Linked DNA regions of Homo sapiens: region 2 is linked to region 1. The links are contacts of gene promoters, found by promoter capture Hi-C in blood cells and fetal thymus (Javierre and others, 2016). All regions are on one chromosome and are shown on one strand. Each heading gives the region's core, a stretch centred on a gene start or on the middle of the fragment in contact. The rest is flanking DNA. Distances are from core to core; before and after follow the strand shown. Region 1 holds the start of TOP2B (DNA topoisomerase II beta). Region 2 holds the start of KAT2B (lysine acetyltransferase 2B).

Region 1 (2,994 bases), core at 495-2,994:
TACTCCAGCCTGGGTGACAGAGCAAGACTCTGTCTCTAAAAACAACAACAAAAACGGAAGATAAAGAGCTTTGACAACTTAAGTTTAAAAAAGGAGACAGCTATGTATTTTATAGCTTAGCTTCTACCTAGTACATCTTCATAAAAAAAACTCATTGCCTTTAAAATTACCCCTTTTCAAACAAAATACATGTGTACTTGGAGATGCAAACTCACAGTAAGAACACAAGATCATTTTAACAAGCACTAAACTGAGGCTCAGGGAAGTTAAATAACAAGGCTATGGATACTTGGTCAGGTTCAGAAAAGTTTGCACCCCAAGTTCAAGGTAAAGAAAGGCTTCACTGTTCTGAAGTCCCTAGTATGGCAAAGTTACATGGCCATCAGAGAGCTAATTAAAAAAACTATGTTTAAATTATTTCCATGTTTCAGAGTTCTCCACCTCTAGACTCAGAATGCAGTTTAAAGATGTGACCTGAGACATTTTTGTTTTCCCTTGAGAGGAAATGCACAGTTGGAAGTTCACAAAAACACCTCTTCAAAAAACAGTAATACTGTTTTCATCTTTATAAAAAGCTTTCATCACAACTCTTTGGTGGCACTTCATGCCTTCAAGTACTCATTTTGGTGATCGTTGGCTCCCTTTTAGTCTGTCTCACAAGCCAGGTTATAAATGGTTTGAAATCAGGGGCCTTGTTTTTACTTTGAACCCATCGCAGAGCCTGGCACAGCGTGGCAGAGTGTGCGCCCAATAAATACTTGAGTGGAATTACACTGAAAAACAGGAAGAAGTAAAGCCATCTTCCATCTGCCAAAGACTGTGATGTTGCTGTATTGGTAATTTTCATTCTTAGAAAGCTTTAATGTGAATGAAATTATTCCTTACTGTGCATTTGAAAATTCCACTGAAAACAGTTTTAAAAATTAAGCATGCCCTCTTAGAGGCAGGGGGCACAGTTCTGGACAGATGAGAAAAGTGACAGTGACATCTCTGCATTGTTCAGAGAAGAAAGGTCAACAAAGAGTAGAAATAGAACACTCAACCCACCCTGCATTCTTTCCCTAGAACATTCTCTGTGTGTCCCTTATCATTTAAGCTTTTCATATGTAGTTTTCTTGAAACTGACCATATGCTCTTTTGGGGTGAGGGGAGGAGACGGAAGAAGGAGATGGAGAAGGTCTGAGATGATTTTTTTCGACAGCAGCGTCCACTTAGGCCCTTGGGGAGGCCGGGTCACGGGGCCTCCTTGCACCAGTGGTCTACAACGTCTTGCCTGCGGTTTACAACCGCTCTTTTAAAATAATTTCCCTTTGGGACGGCCCCCGGCTTCTTCCTGCCACCCCCATCCCCACCCCGCCCCCATCCTCATCCTTAGAGGCCCCAGGCAAACGCTTCGGATTCCCGGTTAGGTCTCAGAGTAAACAGCACGCTTGGAGGATTACAATCGACCCGAGGCCAATTCGACCCTTTCCCTTTGCCGCCCTCAATTGACCCTTGAAGCAGCCCCTGCTCTCCCTTCAAATGGAAAACCCACAGACACACACACAAACAAAAACCCCAAGTCTTCCTTTCGGTTGCTACCCGCAATGACGTTTCCCCCCTCGGGTCCCGCCCCTCCAGGGGGCTTGGAATTTTGGGATTGGCCGAGAGGCTGTGGCGACAAGGCCCGGATTGGACAGCATGGCGCTGACTGACAGCGGGGGCGGCCGCCGCGCCCTCCCTCTCTCCCCGGTGTGCAAATGTGTGTGTGCGGTGTTATGCCGGACAAGAGGGAGGTGACCGTGGCGGCGGCGGCGGCGGCTCTGTTTATTGTCCCTCTCGGTGTGTGTGTGTGAGGAAATCGGGGCTGCAGCGAGGCTAAGGCTGCCTTTGAAGCAGCGGCGGCGACCGGGACGACTACTCTGGCGACTCGAGTGGCTGGCCTTCGCGGAGTGTGAGAAGGACAAGGCACCTCTGCGTCCTCGCCACGTCCGAGCGCCTCGGGCTCCCCGGCCGCCCTCGCGGCTCGCACGCCCGGGCTTCAGCCCGGCCTGCAGCGGCGCCCGCGGGCGGGCGAGAAGGCAACGCCGCCGCTCGGCCGCCGCCGGTCGCTCCCTGCTTTCTCCTCAGCCGCCGCGCTAGGCCCGGGCGACGCGGACGCCGCGCCTCGAGTTTGAGGGCAGCCGGCGGCGCGGCCTCCTCAGCGGGCTCGGCTGGACGTCCGCTCCGGATCTTCGCGATGGGGCGCGGGGGTCGGCGCGGCTAGGAGTGCGGCGAGTGGAGCGGTGGGTGCGGAGCGGCGGGGCCCAGCGGCCCGCAGGGAGGCGGGAGCGGCGGCTGCGGCCTCAGGGCCTGTGAGCTGGAGGCACTCGCCATGGCCAAGTCGGGTGGCTGCGGCGCGGGAGCCGGCGTGGGCGGCGGCAACGGGGCACTGACCTGGGTGGTAAGTGGCTGGTCCCCGGGACGGGCGGCTGCATTGTTCCGGGCCCGCGGCGGGGGCGGAATTCCGAACGGGCGGGGGAGGGGAAAGGGAGGGAAATCCCGTCCCCCGAACGGGCGCTCCATAGGGGCCTGTGCTTGCAGAATCCTCCAGCCCGCTCCCCGCGCCTTTTCTTTCTTTCTTTCTCTGTACGTCTCTGGAAGTCCTGACTGCCAGAGCGTAATGTGTACTTGAAACTTTGGGGGGACAAAACCGCGAACGTAACATACAGCCCCCGCTTCCTCTCTTTTCTTTTTAACCAGACTCTTCCGGGGCAGCCGAACCTGAAATGGTGGGGATGGCGATAATGCAAGTGTGTCTGTGTGGGGCAGCATTTTCTCCAAATGTAGTTCAAGAAAACCCTGGGAAAAGGGGTGTGTGTGTGTGTGTATTCTAAATGCAGCTCTTTCTGGGGCTTTAATCTCAAAGAAGAATGCATTGGGATTTCTACAGCAACTTGCACTTCAATTTGGAAAGCCTCATTCAATGCGCTCAATTGAGAGCGCATTGGGGATGACTTTCACAGCAGTTAATAC
Region 2 (2,700 bases), core at 163-2,662, 5.6 Mb after region 1:
CAAAATTCAGAAGTGGTCACTGCAGCTTGGTTGTGACAATCGGGAATCTGGAATCTGGGAACTTGACCCTCTTTACAGCAGGCAGGAAGAATACAGGGAGGTGTGAGTGTGTGTGAGTGTGTCTCTTCCCTGCCTCAGCCACAGGCCGCAGGAGCTGACAAGGCCAAGTCCCCGCCCCCCTCAGCTGTCACCCTGTCAAAACAAAGCCGCTGCTGACAGCGCAGGGCCAGCCTGCCCCGCGGCCTCGGGCAATCCTCCCACCTCGGGAACACAGCCTCCACATCTGGATCTGCAGCTGGAGGTGACAGGGTGCCTAAACTGGCATGGAGAGTGGGTAGCAAGAAATGGGTGTCCTCAAACTGAGCAGTAGCGCCCGCCGCGCTGGGCTGTCACTTTGCCAAATCCTGTTTACACCTCGAGCAGCTGGGACAGCGTTTTAACTAAACAAGTAATAATACAATAATGACAGGGCTGTCACCGCGCGCGGCAGTGCCTCCGCCCCCAGCCGAGGGCGCCAGGCACCACAAGACCCTCGCCTCGGACTCTGCCCACCTTCCCACCCCGCGCTTTCCTCCCCTTCGCTTTCCCAAAGCGCCAGGAGTCCGGGAGTCTTCTCCACCCCCACTCCTTGCACCCAGTTCCTCCCAGTGGGACACAGGAAGGGATCGATTGCAGAAGGGACCACTCAGTCCCCCAAAAGATTTTTCCTTGCCCCTGGGTCACCCGCCACATGGAGAGCACCGCTCCACTCCCGGGAAAGTGACTCCAGCGAGCTCCTACAGAGCAACAAAACCCCAAGGTAGCCCGGGAGCTCGGATGCCGAAGCTACTCCTTTCAAGCGGAAGGAATGAAGGGCTCTCCGTCTTAGTGATCCCCCTTCTTCAAACCCAGCAGGACTCTTATCCAAGAAGAAGCTAATTGGGCGCGGGCGACAAGAGCACTTCCGCGGTGCAGCGGCCCCAGGCGGGAGGCGAGAGGCAGGAGGCGGGAGGCGGAGGTGGAAGCGGGAGGGGGAGGGGGGTCCCGCGGGCTGGGCCCCTAGCACCCATCCGCGGTCCGAGAGCGGCGAGCGCGTACCTTGCAGGCGGAGTACACTCCGAGTTTCTCCAGTTTCTTGGCCCGCGGAGCGGAGCGTAGTTGCGCTTTCTTCACGGCGATTCGGGCCGAGCCACCGCCTCCCGGTCCTTCGGCCGTGCCCGCTGCAGCCACTGCCGTCGCCGGACCGCAGGCGCCCGAGCCCCCGGCGGCAGCGGCGCAGGGGGAGCCCTGCGGGGGCGCGGGCGGAAGCGCCGCAGGCTGCGGGGGCAGCGCCCCGGGCCCGGCCCCTGCCCCGGCTCCTGCCCCGCAGCCGCCCGGCCCGGCCCCGCCAGCCTCGGACATGCCGCCCCGGAGCACGGCAGGAGGCGCCGAGTGTCAGGCGCCGCCGCCGCCGCCAGGGTCTCCCTCTCGGGCTCTGGTAGTCGGGAGAGCGAGACCCTCCCCCCACGCCCTCCCGCCCCCTTCGCCCACCCCCCTCCCCGCCCCCGCCCTCCCCCTAGCGCGCCGCTCGCCCGGCTCGCTCTGGCCGGGCCCCGCGCGCTGATGGTGGTGGCGGCGGCGGCAGCGGCGGCAGCTGCTCCCCCAGGAGGGAGGGGACTAGCGGCTCCGCTGCCGCTGCCGCCGCCGCCACAGCACACGCCCTCCCTTGGTTCTCCTGCCCGGGACTCTGCTCCGCGCCCTGGCTGCGGACATGTTCCTCGGGACTGCGGACTAGGTGTGCGTGCCGGCGGCTGCCAGCCTCACGGTGTCTGCCAGCGCTGGGAGGCCCCCCACGGCCTCTTTTCCGCTGCCCGCGGGGTTTGCACCCCCCACCCCAGTGCTTCGACACCTACCGCTCGCCCGCCAGGGGGCGAGGCCAATCCCTGGGTGTGGGTGAGGGTGGGGACGAGGGTGGGGGTAGGGGCCTGGAGCCCAGGCACCTGCTGGCCACCTCCCCCCTCCGCGGCCCCCCATCCGACCCCCGCACGCCTGCACCAGTGGGAGGGGGCAGCCTCTCAATCATTTGTCCTTTCACTCTCTTCCACCCTGTCTCTGACAGAGAGACAACTTCCTCCACCCTAGCGGGAGCCAGAGGAAAAAAAATATATTTTTGAAAAGTACCCGTCCATGCTAATCTTTTTCTTTGTTGCTAATTCACCAAAATAAAGACGTGATGTTCTCCCTTTCTCTTTTTAAATACTTTCTGTCAAACTATTTTTTAATATAATTAACACTTTCTTCCCATAGCAATTTCTGGGTCAAATCTGCCGGAGGAGGGGAAAAAAACTTACTATTCTCTGTAATTTTTGTTTGAAAGTGCTGGTTGCTAAAAGAAAGATTGTCTAAAAAGCATTGTCAAAAACTATGCAGTGGAAAAAGTTTGAATACAAAAAGTTTGTTAACAGGATTCGTTTCTGGGTGGTGGTTCTATAACGTTACGTAGTTTTCAAAATTGTGCCACCGCGTGCGTATTAACCAGGAAAAAGATATAAGCATAATTCAAAAGAATAAATATCGATTTTGGCCTCAAACTTTAAAAAGAAAAAAAAAACCCTCAACTCAGTGTTTCCAACTCTTGTTGAAAACTGTTGTTTTCACTGTTGATGACTGTGGAGCATACAAGTCAGTGCTGCGTTTGAAAGTGGTGTACCGTTGATCGCCTTCTTAAGCAGGTTTTAAAAG

The links. Contacts are between HindIII fragments. The CHiCAGO score rates a contact against its expected background, and 5 or more counts as called.
Region 2: a contact is called between the fragment with the promoter of KAT2B here and the fragment with the promoter of TOP2B in region 1, in 5 of 17 cell types (total CD8 T cells, naive CD8 T cells, total CD4 T cells and 2 more). The highest score is 13.5, in total CD8 T cells.

Annotation. Positions count from the first base shown.
Region 1 is chr3:25,663,657-25,666,650 of GRCh38, reverse strand. TOP2B (DNA topoisomerase II beta) reads left to right here and starts at 1,744. Exons shown (of 36, transcript NM_001330700.2): 1 at 1,744-2,422. The coding sequence starts at 2,354. MIR4442 (microRNA 4442) reads left to right here and starts at 1,712; the gene lies at 1,712-1,778. RefSeq lists enhancers at 1,444-2,007, 2,965-2,994 and silencers at 2,175-2,534, 2,489-2,677. The HindIII fragment of the contact is 4,216 bases long and covers 1,099-2,994 here.
Region 2 is chr3:20,039,158-20,041,857 of GRCh38, reverse strand. KAT2B (lysine acetyltransferase 2B) reads right to left here and starts at 1,412. Exons shown (of 18, transcript NM_003884.5): 1 at 1,078-1,412. The coding sequence starts at 1,380. RefSeq lists enhancers at 1-100, 817-1,787 and silencers at 951-1,010, 1,211-1,340, 1,511-2,150. The HindIII fragment of the contact is 5,734 bases long and covers 1-2,700 here.